2 separate regions of the Homo sapiens genome follow, and region 2 is linked to region 1. Evidence: promoter capture Hi-C in human tissues and cell types (Jung and others, 2019). All regions are on one chromosome and are shown on one strand. The core of a region is centred on a gene start or on the middle of the fragment in contact, and the rest is flanking DNA. Distances in the headings are between cores, read along the strand shown.

The links. Contacts are between HindIII fragments. The study calls those that stand out against the background at their distance.
Region 2: a fragment that was not itself captured here is called in contact with the fragment with the promoter of CORO7 in region 1 in 1 of the 25 tissues and cell types used here (pancreas).

What each region holds. Positions count from the first base shown.
Region 1 is chr16:4,414,234-4,420,376 of GRCh38, reverse strand. CORO7 (coronin 7) reads left to right here and starts at 3,781. Exons shown (of 28, transcript NM_024535.5): 1 at 3,781-3,918. The coding sequence starts at 3,859. CORO7-PAM16 (CORO7-PAM16 readthrough) reads left to right here and starts at 3,781. Exons shown (of 31, transcript NM_001201479.2): 1 at 3,781-3,918. The coding sequence starts at 3,859. It overlaps LOC124903635 (a long non-coding RNA gene), which reads left to right. Exons shown (of 3, transcript XR_007064963.1): 2 at 1-18; 3 at 3,416-3,652. The HindIII fragment of the contact is 38,450 bases long and covers 1-6,143 here.
Region 2 is chr16:4,654,069-4,660,211 of GRCh38, reverse strand. MGRN1 (mahogunin ring finger 1) reads right to left here. Exons shown (of 17, transcript NM_015246.4): 5 at 2,849-2,966. Among named protein-coding and RNA genes, the nearest start is that of MIR6769A, 14 kb to the left of the region's middle. RefSeq lists enhancers at 5,065-5,564, 5,565-6,066. The HindIII fragment of the contact is 6,147 bases long and covers 1-5,561 here.

The sequences.
Region 1 (6,143 bases), core at 2,532-5,031:
ATGCCTGGTCTCTTTTTGGTTAGACTTTATTATTATTTATTTTTGAGACAGTGTTTTGCTCTTGTTGTCCAGGCTGGAGTGCAATGGCACGATCTTGACTCACTGCAACCTCCACCTCCTGGGTTCAAGCGATTCTCCTGCCTCAGCCTCCTGAGTAGCTGGGATTACAGGCATGCACCACTGCACCCAGCTAATTTTGTATTTTTGGTACAGACGGGGTTTCGCCATGTTGGCCAGGCTGGTCTCGAACTCCTGACCTTAAGTGATCTGCCCGCCTCAGTCTCCCAAACTGCTGAGATTACAGGCATGAGCCACTGTTCCCTGGCTTTGTTTTCTATTTTGATATGAGCCCAACCCTATGAGGTAGGTAGCGGGAGGACTATTCCCATTTTTACAAACGGACACCACCCCGCCCACAAAGAAAAAAAACAACAATAAAATAAGCTCTGAAAGATGAAAAGACTTGTCCAAGGCCACACAGCTAGTAAGTGAGTGAATGAAGACCCAAGCCCAGGTCTTCTCACAACAAAACTGTGTGTTTTTCCTTTAAACCACGTGCCTATCAATCGTCATTGCGATCAGTATCTCCCAAGCATATGGCTCTTGGGAGTTTCTGAAGTACTTTCTCATGCTTATTTTCATTTGCTTTTCACAACAAAAGAGAGGCAGGGCAAGCATTTATTACTACCATGGGTACAAACTGCTGCCCTGCCTTTCAAGGACTTCTGCTGCAACTGGACACAAATGGATCCATCCCAGGCTTGTTGCCAAAGACTGCAGAAGCCACAAGCTACACCTATCCTCAGTGCCAGTCAGAATATGATCCCGTGTTCTCCAGGCAGAAGCTCAAAAATGTGAGCTTTAAGGAGAAACAGGCCGGGCACAGTGGCTCACGCTTGTAATCCTAGCACTTTGGGAGGCCGAGGTGGGCAGACAGCCTGAGCTCAGGAGTTTGAGACCAGCCTGGGCAACATGGCGAAATCCCATATCTACTAAAAATTCAAAAATTAGCCAGGCATGGTGGTATGCACCTGTAATCCCAGCTACTCGGGAGGCTGAGGTAGGAAAATCACTTTAATCCAGGAGACAGGTTATGGTGAGCTGAGATCACACCATTGCACTGCCTTGGCAACAGAGACTTTATCTCAAAAAAAAAAAAAAAAAAAAGGAGAAACAAATGTTACTTGCAAAGGGAACACAAAGTCGTAAGCGTTTCCCCCTCCACACTTTCATTTCACTAGACCAGCAATTCCACAGAGCACTTTCCCCATCTCCTGAGCTGTGGATATCTGTGAGAGCTGCGAAGGGGTTTAATGGTGCTCCCCGACAGTGCTGGGCTGAAGGCAATGGGAGACAAGACGGTCTCTGTGATTTCTTGCTGAAACCACTGATCATTTGAAGTATAATGGGACTGGCCAAGTTCATGGCTGCCAATGGCTGCAACTCTCCCATGTGAGCTCAGAGATCTTTTACAGAGGGCAGAAGAGCCTGAGCCCAGCTCTTCAGGGGCATGATTTGTCTTAAGTATAGCATTTTCTTTACTTCACACAGAGTATAGGACAATTCCAAGTGGGTGAGGAATGTGTGGTCCAGATGTTCTGGTCTGTGATGTCTGTAGCAGGTGCAGTTCCCTATGAAAGGGGATGATGAGCTGTGCCTCGGTCGCCTAGGATCCAGTGGGACCACTGTCCTGATGATTTTCTTTCTTTCTTTTTTTTTTTGAGACAAAATCTCGCTTTTGTCTCCCATACTGGAGTGCAATGGCATGATCTCGGCTCATTGCAACCTCCACCTCCCGGGTTCAAGTGATTCTCCTGCCACAGCCTCCCGAGTAGCTGGGATTACAGGCACCTGCCACCACGCCTTGTATTTTTAGTAGAGACGGGGTTTCACCATGGTGGCCAGGCTGGTCTTGAACTCCTGACCTCAGGTGATCCACCCACCTCGGCCTCCCAAAGTGCTGGGATTATAGGCGTGAGCCACCATGCCCAGCCACTTGATGATTTTCTTTTTTTTTCTTTTTTTTTTTTTTTTTGAGACAGAGTCTCGCCCTGTCACCCAAGCTGGAGTTCAATGGCACGATCTCGACTCACTGCAACCTCCGCCTCCCGGGTTCAAGCAGTTCTCTGCCTCAGCCTCCCAAGTAGCTGGGATTACAAGCACCCACCACCACGCCCAGCTAATTTTTATATTTTTAGGACAGACAGGGTTTCACCATCTTGGCCAGGCTGGTCTTGAACTCCTGACCTGGTGATCCACCCACCTTGGCCTCCCAAAGTGCTGGGATTACAGGCGTGAGCTACCGCGCCCGGCCAACCTGATGATTTTCTAAAAACCTTTTTGGACTGGGCGCAGTGGCTTATGCCTCTAATCCCAGCACTTTGGGAGGCTGAGGCAGGTGGATCACTTGAGGTCAGGAGTTTGAGACCAGCCTGGCCAACATGGCAAAATCCCATCTCTACTAAAAATACAAAAATTAGGAGTAGTGGCGCACACCTGTAATCCCAGCTGCTTGGGAGGCTGAAGCAGGAGAATCGCTTGAACTCAGGAGGTGGAGGTTGCAGTGAGCTGAGATGACACCACTGCACTCCAGCCTGGGCAACAGAGTGAGACTCTGTCTCAAAACAAACAAACAAAAAGCCTTTTCAATAAACCACAAGTGACTTTGGTTCACAGTAAATACACTTCTGCCCGAACTAAGATAAAATGTAAGCATTGCTTTTCAAACCTTAGAAATGCAAGAATCAGCTGGGTGCGTTGGCTCATTCCTATAATCCCCACACTTTGGCAGGCCAAGTTGGGAGGACTGCTTGAGTCTCGTTCGAGACCAGCCTGACCATCATGGTGAAACCCCGTCTCTTACTAAAAATAAAAAATTAGTTGGGCGCGGTGGCAGGCGCCTGTAATCCCAGCTATTCGGGAGGCTGAGGCAAGAGAATTGCTTGAACCCGCGAGGCAGAGGGTGCAGTGAGCTGAGATCGCGCCACTGCACTCCAGCCTGGGTGACAGGGACTCCGTGTCAAATAAATGAATAAATACTAAAGAAAAATTAAAAGCTATTATTATTATTATTTTTAGAGGCAGGGTCTCTTTCTGTCTCCCAGGCTGGAGTGCAGTGGCACGGTCACAGATAACTGCAGCCTCGACCTCTTGGGCTCAAGGGATACTCCTGCCTCAGTCTCCCAAAGTTCGGGATTACAGACCTGAGCCACCGCGCCTGGCCGGATGCAGAGCGCCTGGCCGGATGCAGAGGCTTTTGAGTAGGCCCGGTGGACAGGGATTTGCTTTAGACCTGGGCCCCTGTTCCCCCTCTGCCTCTTACCACTGGTGTGACCTGGGGACCGACAGTTTACACTCTCCTTTAGCCGGGGGTTTCCTGTCTCTGAAATGGAGCTAATTTCTCCCCTCTCTACAGGAAGAGGTAGATAGTGCTGGAAGGCGTGCTAGGTACACCGCAAAGACTCCACAGCAAATCCTGCACACAAAATCGCGAATGCTGCAGCCGAGACCCCACGCAAGCAAGCACCGCAGGAGACGTGGGCTGACAGCTGCGCCCCACGTGACCTCCCACCCGCGCCAGTCCGTCCCCTCGGTATCAGGGCGTGGCCTCGCGGGGCGGCCGTACCTGGATTGGCCGGGAGGCGGGACCGGTGGTGCGCGCGCGAAAGGAGAGGGGCTTGGGGGCGTGGCCCAGGGGGCCGGAGACGGCTGCGATTGGCAGTGGGGCGCGCCGGGGGCGTGACCGCGGCATTGGGTCCCGGGTGGGGCCGAGGCAGCGGGAGTCGCGGTTGCTCAGCGTGCACCTGAGACCCGACGCCCGGGGTCCTCGAAGACGCGTCCGCCGCCGTGCCCGTCGCCATGAACCGCTTCAGGGTGTCCAAGTTCCGGCACACCGAGGCTCGGCCGCCCCGCCGCGAGGTGAGTCCGGCCCGAGGACCGGGCGCTGTCGCCTCGGGCCCCGTCCGGCTGCCCCTCCCCCTGCCCGGACCCCACAGGGGTGCCCTCCAGGGCCGTCTGGAACCCCGAGACCTCCATCCCCGGGGAACCCCCCTTCAGGCCAGGGCCCCGGCGTCCGGGCCGTTTCGTCGCCGCCGGAGGGCAGAGTCCGGCACTCCCGTGACTCGCTCTGGCGCTCGGTGACCCTGGCGGTCTGCCCGCCTCGCCCACCTCGCCCCGGGACCCCCGAGGCGGCGCAGCCCTCCTAGCCGGGGCCCAGGCCTGCGAGGCCGCCTGCCTTCCCAGCTTCCGGTCGGCCTCGCCGGGAGCCGGGGCTCGGGGCGCTGCCGGCGCCTGGCTCCTCCTCCCTGCCGCCCCGGGTCGCCCCTGCCCCTGGCTGGGCTGTGGGGAGACGCCCCTCTCTCCTCTGGCCCCGGCGAGCCCAAGTGTGTCAGTGGTGGGGAGGGAGCCCCTCGGCCGCACGCGCCCCTCCCTCGGGTTTCCGCCGGTGCTTCCTCCTCTCGCCGCTGGCGCAAGCTCTTTCTTTATCTCGGTGATGCTGCCACGGCTGGGTGGGGCCTGGGGAAGCCTGAGCAGGTGGAGCCCCAAAGAATTGCTGAGCCAGGTGCCGGGAGACCCTTCGGACCCCCGAAACGGCAGGAGGACTGATGAGGGGTGCGCCTTGGAAACGATGTCAGCTCTGCTCTTCCGCTTTCCGTGTTATTTGTAAGGCCTGGGAGTGTCCTCCGATAACTGGGCCTAGGAGTTGACCTCAAGTGACCCCATCAGGGTCCCAGAGCAAGTCAGGGCAGTCTGGGTAGAGGTTCCGTTTTTGTAGTGTGGACTATATTTCCTCTGCTTCCACTTTATGCTGTGCTAAGCTGCTGGAGACATCCCGGTGAACACAACGGCATTTTCCTTCCCCTGTGGCACTTGTAGCCTCATGAGGGAGACAGCAAGCAGACAAACAAGAGCATTGGAGGTTTTCATAACGACATTGAAGAACACACATGAGGGACTGGGATGGAGAATGGAGGGGGCCAGTCTCAGTAGCGTGGTCAGGAAAGGCTGCCTGGAGTAGATGGCATTTTAGCTGAGGCCAGAAGGGTGAGAATTGAGAAAGAGCCTGGTGGAGAAATGGAAAGTGAGCATGAGTGGATGGAGGGGATGGCCGGAGCAGTATGGTGACAGATGAGTCCAGAGTGGTCCTGCAGAACCCAAGGGCCACCGGAAGAAGTTGGGTTTTATTCTGATTGCAGTGCAGAGCCATTGAAAAGTTAGGGGGAGGGGCTGGATACCATGACTCACGGTAATCCCAGTACTTTGGGTGGACTGCTTTGAGCTCAGGAGTTCGAGACCAGCCTGGGCAACATTGCGAAACCCCTCTGAACAACAAGTTAAAGAAAAAAAAATTAGCCAGGTGTGGTGACTCACTCCCGTGGTCCCAGCTACTTGGGAGGCTGAGGTTGGAGGATCTCTTGAGCCGAGGAAGTGGAGGTTGCAGTGAGCCGAGATTGTGCCACTACACACCAGCCTGGGCAATAGAGTGAGACACTGTCTCAAAAAAAGAAAAAAACAAACAAGAAAAGTTAGGAGGAGGTACCTAGGTTTGCATCAAGACAGCCGGTGGCTCTGAGTGCAGTTAAGTACTGCTTGGAGGGGTCTGGAGAATACTTGAGGGGCCCTAATTCTTGCTCCTGGGTGGGCCTTAGTCCAGCAACATAAACAGATAGGCATGGAACTACAGACTGTAGGGAGAGCTTAAAACAGTTTATGTTAGGGAGGCGGGAGAACAGGTGATCTGTTCTTTTCAGAGATATTTGCAGTCACTGTGTTTATACAGTAAACATGAATCAGGAGGGAGAAATAATAGGGTGGGACTGATGCTGTAACCATGGCAGGTGAACACTGATATAGAAACTTCAGGTGGTGGAGGTGGTTTCCGGGGTGCTATGGGTGGGTGGAGTGGGAAACATGGGTGTCCTGTCATCGAGGGCAGGAAGGAGTGCTGAGCGGTGCTTTGACAACAGAGAAAATGTGTGGACCTTGCAGATCTTAGTTTCAGAAACGTGCTCCTCTGCCTCCCCTTGGGTGGGGGTGTTTCTTTTACTGACTTATGAGACTTTGTGGAAAGGTGTGTCCTGATGAGGCCAGGCCTTGGTGGTTCCCCTCTCTGAGCTTGGGTGTTTTTCTCCGGGTACTTGGAG
Region 2 (6,143 bases), core at 1,239-3,738, 240 kb before region 1:
AAAAAGCGGCAGAACGAAAGTGGGCCCCCAGCCCCTCCACACATGTCCTCTCTGCTCCTGGGCAAGGCCAGTGCAGCCATGCTGGGCACCCCTGTGGCCTGTCCTTGCAGCTGCGCTCTTGATGCTAAGCCATGCCTGGCCCAGCATCTGAGCCCCTCAGGTTCTCTTCGGGGAAGCGTCTCCCTCCTACTCCAGGTCTCTGCGGCCTGGCTGCAGGACGGGAGGCCCCCGCCCCAAATGGGGCCACAAAGAGAAGACACACGGCCTCCAAGCATCTCCGGACCCAGCCGGATGGCCACGCGCTGGAGCAGGGCCAGCTGAGGGAGATGGGAGGCTAAGCCACAGAGATCCCCACCCTGATGACACAGGCCCTGGAAGAAATCTCAGGCCACCCAGCCTTCTCTGAATCTACACCAGTAAGTCTCTGGTTTTCTTTTCTTAAACCAGACCAAATGTTTTTCTGTCACTTGCATCCACAAAAGTCCTGACAAGGATAGCACCTTGAAGGCCCCGCAGCAGCAGCTGCCCCTTATGTGCGCCAACTCAGCGTGGCCATCCACAGACGAGCCAGCACTATGCTGCACGCGGGCCCTCCTTCAGCTTCCTCAGCAAACCCTCACCAAAGGCCCCCTGGCGGGTCCAGTGCCAAGTCCGGGACAGAGGTAAGGACAACTGGGGGCATCGTGATTCCAACCCTCTCTGGGCCCTAAACACCGTACCCCTCAGGAAGCTGGCCACAATGACCACTCCCCTACCCCGGCCACCTCACCTGCAAACCCATGGCTCACAGGGCTCGGAGACTGGGGCTCCCCAGAGGGGCTGGGGAGGGACCCCAGGAAACATGAAACAAACAGGAAACACAGACACCTCCCAAACTCCCACTCCCCAGAGCTCAGCACACACGCCACACAGCACCCACAGTCACACGTGAGAGCAGGGTGCAGGGTCCACGCCAGTGATGCCGGGAGAGGACAGAGACTCCACCCACCCGAGGGAGTCTGGGGAGACGTTTATTTTACTTTTATTTTATTTTTATTTTTATTTTTTTTTTACCTTCCTAAGAAATGGAGTCTCGCTATGTGGCTCAGACTGGACTGCAGTGGCTATTCCAAGGTACAATCCCACTACTGATCAGCATGGGAGTTTTGATCTGTTCGGTTTTCACCCCTCCTTAGACAACCTGGTGGTCCCCCACTCCCAGGTAGTCTTACTTTTGAGACAGGGTCTCGCTCTGTCACCCAGGCTGAAGTGCGCTGGCACGATCATGGCTCACTGCAGCCTCCATCTCCCAGGCTCAGGCGATCTTCCCACCTCAGCCTCCTCAGTAGCTGGGACTACAGGCAAATACCACCACATCCAGCTAATTTTTGTATTTTTCATAGAGACAAGGTTTTACTCAGGCTTGTCTCAGACTCCTGGCCTCAAATGATCCTTCCACCTCAGCCTCCCGAAGTGCTGGGATTACAGGCGAGAGCCACCACACCTGGCTTGTTTTATTTTTAATGCAAGGACAAGGGAGGCTTTTTACAGAGAGTGGCTAAACGTCAGGAACACAGCCACAGGACTGGCCCCAGCGTAAGTCAGCTCATGAGGCCTGCTAGCAGGGCATGTGGTCAGTGTCTCCTCCTGGCCTCAGACCTGGGACCCACAAGGTCTACATTGTTTTTTTTTTTTCTGAGACGGAATCTCACTCTGTCGCCCAGGCTGGAGTGCAGTGGCGTGATCTCGGCTCACTGCAAGCTCCACCTCCTGGATTCATGATATTCTCCTGCCTCAGCCTCCCCAGTAGGTGGGACTACAGGCGCCCGCCACCACACCCGGGTAATTTTTTTGTATTTTTAGTAGAGACGGGGTTTCACCGTGTTAGCCAGGATGGTCTTGATCTCCTGACCTCGTGATCCGCCTGCCTCGGCCTCCCAAAGTGCTGGGATTACAGGCATGAGCCACCGCGCCCGGCCACACAAGGTCTGTACTGTTACACAGGAACCCCCTGGACCAGGGTCTTTGCAAGCTGCAGACCAGATGGACGCTGGAAAACAAGGCAAAGGGGGAAGGAGGGAGGACACAGCTTTGACTAAAAGCTGGAGAGGGGCCTAGGAGGAGCAACTAGCAAAGCAGCCACTCAAGCCGCAACCTACAAAAGACCTGGTTAAAAGAGGTCTGCAGCAATGGCCGGGCACGGTGGCTCACACCTGTAATCCCAGCACTTTGGGAGGCCGAGGCCGGCGGATCACAAGGTCAGGAGATCAAGACCATCCTGGCTAACACGGTGAAACCCCGTCTCTACTAAAAATACAAAAAATTAGCCGGGCGTGGTGGCAGGCGCCTGTAGTCCCAGCCACTCGGGAGGCTGAGGCAGAATGCTGTGAACCCAGGAGGCAGAGGTTGTAGTGATCCGAGATCGCGCCACTGCACTGCAGCCTGGGCGACAGAGCGAGACTGTCTCAAAAAAAAAAAAAAAAAAAAAAAAAAAGGATGTCTGCACCAAGATTTTAAACAAAAGTAAGGTTAAAAAGCTTGAAGGAATGCCACCTGGTGTGAACAGACCCTGCATTGCTGCAGCCTGGCAGGGGGTGCCCCATTCTTCACATCTCCCCAAACCCCAGTGTCTGAGCCTCCGAGTGCGGCTGCCTGGTCGGCCTCTGGTCCCCTGGCCCCATCAGCACATGGCCCAGGCCTTGCTCCCGCCCATCCACACGTCCACCTGAGCACAGACTGGGGCGGCCGTTCCCAGGTCTTATGAACCCTGGAGGAAGCCAAACACACAGACCCCACTGTGCTGGCCCCACCCCCAAGGGGAGAGAATTCAGGAGGAGCGAAGGGCAAGGAGCCGCCCAGCCAGCATTACCTCGTCATCCTTCCATTCCGAGAAGTCAATCTTGAAGGAGGGCAGGGAGAACTGCTGGCTCACCCCTCTCTTGTAGTGGACGGTCTCGGACTGTAGCGAGGGGCTCTTGGGGCTGTATCTGCAGGGAGCCAGGAGCAAGCAGTGAGGCTGCGGCAGGAAGAGGGCCCTCCGTGCCCGTCCCTCCCACTCCGACAGCTGGAAGGGCCGCAGACACCTGTCTTTTGGGGACCCTCTCTCATGGGGAACAGCAAACAGCCTACATGGCCACGTGGCCCTCACCCTTCCAGGGCCTTCCACGGCCTCTCTGCTCACCATGCAGCTCTCCCCAGGTCAGGCCTGGCTACAATTCTCCCAGAGCCCACACCTGCCCAATCCCTTTGATACCTCCCCAGTGTAGCTGTGCTTTTCCTTTCCATCGGTGCTAAGTTGGTTTGTTTATTTATTTATTTATTTATTTATTTATTTATTTATTTATTTATTTTTGAGATAAGAGTCTCGCTCTGTCGCCTGGGCTGGAGTGCAGTGTTGTGATCTCAGCTCACTGCAACCTCTGCCTTCTGAGTTCAAGTGATCCTCCTGCCTCAGCTTCCCAAGTAGCTAGGATTACAGGTGTGCGCCACCATGCTAGGCTAATATTTTATTTTTAGTACAGATGGGGTTTCACCATGTTGGCCAAGCTGGTCTCGAACTCCTGACCTCAAGTGATGCACCTGCCTCAGCCTCCCAAAGTGCTGGGATTACAGGCCTGAGTCACTGCACCCAGCTTGAGTTTACTTTTTAAATGAACACAGTACTTAAGTATACACAGTGCAAAATGCATCTTCCCCAACCCTCACGCCTGCTCCCAGAGGCCTGCTGTCCGCCCCAGCAGAGACCCACAGATCACTCCCGGAAGGCGGAGGCACAATGGTGCCCACATGCAGCGCGGGTCTCTCTTCCTCAACGTTCAGACGGGGTAGGCGTCAACACTGCTCTTTCATGCGTCTGCACACATCAGGGGCTGTGTCCTGTGAACCACCACACAGGTCCCGCTTTGGTTTTACTGATTCAGTCAGGGCCCCTGGGGGACACCAGCAGATGGTCACCAACATCTCACTTTTCCCAACACTGCTTCAAGGACCGCCCTTCTGCATGTCTTAGCCACAGGCACGAGTGCATCCCTAAGACAGGTGCCTCAAGCAGTTTCATTTCTGATAAAACTCCATGCAGGAACCCAATTCACAATCCACAGCCCCTCCCCTCCACCCCACCGCCCTGCTTGCCTGTGGCCAGGGCTCCACAGGCTCTCCTGGACAAAGGCACACCAAGCTCAGAAATGGGATGGGGCGTGGGGGGGCCACCACTGTACACACAAAGGCAGAAGAGGCCTGCCATGGCCGCCAGAGCCCAGCATGGTTGGAGGCACTACAGGGGAGGCCCGGGCTCAGCCTCAGTAAAAGGCACAGTTAAGACGCCACCCTCAGGTGGACCCCAGCCTTCTCCTGTGAGATGCGGAGGCCTGGACACACCCCTCTGTCTGAGCCTCAGTTTCCTTGTCAGGAGGCAGGGAGGGTGGCTTGCCCTGCAGCTCAAATGGATGGAGCACTGGCAGGCTGGATGGTGTCCGGGTGCCTGGGCACAGCCTCCAGGTCCTGGAGCCTCCAGGTCCTTTTCTGTGATCCCTGCTGGGAGGGGAAGCTGGCCTTGCACCGCGTCCTGAGAGAGGGGGACAGTGGCACTGGAGCTGTTCCTGCTCTGTGATGCCTGCTGGGAGGGGAAGCAGGCCTCGTACCAGGTCCTGAGAGAGGGGGACAGTGGCACTGGAGCTGTTCCTGCTCTGTGATCCCCGCTGGGAGGGGAAGCAGGCCTCGTACCAGGTCCTGACAGAGGGGGACAGTGGCACTGGAGCTGTTCCTGCTCTGTGATTCCTGCTGGGAGGGGAAGCTGGCCTTGTGCCAGGTCCTGAGAGGGGGGGACTGTGGCATTTCTCTCATCACTAGCCCGCAGGGGTCTAGGAGAGGGTGACACCAGCCAGGGCTGGCAGGGCACCCTCTCTGCTCTCTCTAGCCTTTCTGGTAGCAGCGGGACCCTCTCTTCAAGTGCACTTGAGATGGTCACCCAGCCCCTGACAGCTGGAGCACTGGGGGGCAGCGGATAGACAACTTACACTGGCCTGTGTCCTCAGCCCACACCCTCTCTGTGGCAGCCCCTGGACACCTCGCCACAACCCAGCTCCTCCACCATGTCGGCCAGGCCCGAGGAGGGCACCAGGCCCCGTGGGTGTCAAACACTCAACCCCAAGCAGTGGGGTGCAAGGAGGGGACAGAGGGGCCTGCCCTGGTCACTCCAAATGCTCCTACGCCCAAGAATTCGACGCCTGTCATAGCACACAGGCATGCATTACTAGTGTCATTAAAGAAATATAATCAAGTGCCGGGGCAAGGTAGAGCCTCAAAGAACAAAGTCTAGAAAAAGGAACCTGTTCCTCCCCAAAGTGCTGCTCCACAGGAGGAGCCCTGGCTGCCGGGGAGCCCAAGGCCAGAGCCCAAGGGCGGCCTCACCTGGTGGCAGGTCCCTAAGAACCTCCCCACATAAGTCGTCTCCACCAGCCCCTCAACTCGAGCACTCAGGCTCCTTTCAAGAGCACCTGTCACGCGAGGGGCTGTGCACAGGACACATGGTCCCCTCCTCACACCACCCACCCGAACTTCCAGCTGAGGACACAGAGGCACAAGCAGTCATGTGCCCCCAAGCCACTCAGCGGGGACAGCATTCAAAGCCTAGGCTCTCAACCACACCCTATCCCCAGATGCAAAGCTGACCACTGAGCGGTGTGCTCCAGTGCAGGAAGGCAGGGGGCACGCTCTTGCCTGTCTCTAAAGCCACTTGGGGCACATGTGCCCTTGTAGCCTGGAGGCAGTCCTGCCAGCTCCTGCTGAAGTTGCAGTTTTCAAACTTTCAGGGCCAGAAGGACCCTTATCTCAAATAAAACCTCTGAAAGTACAAATATCTAATTATGACACAATAAAAAATAAATATTTGGTCCCAGCCCCAGTTCCTGACACAGAGTCCTCTAAAACCCTTGTCATTTCCTCAGCAACAGGGGTGCTAGGAGCCTCTTTTGTTCTAATATTTGTTCCTTGACCTTTGCTCCCAACACAGAACTCCAAACCCTTGGAATTTCCCGGGTGGTAGGAGTGTCTTATGTGCCAGTGAGGTGACTCTTGGCTCCTGGAGGTGGCTGGCTGCCAGAAAGACCAAGCCATGATTAGAGACTTGGAAGTGTCGTCTAAGAGCTCCCGAGGAAAAACAAACA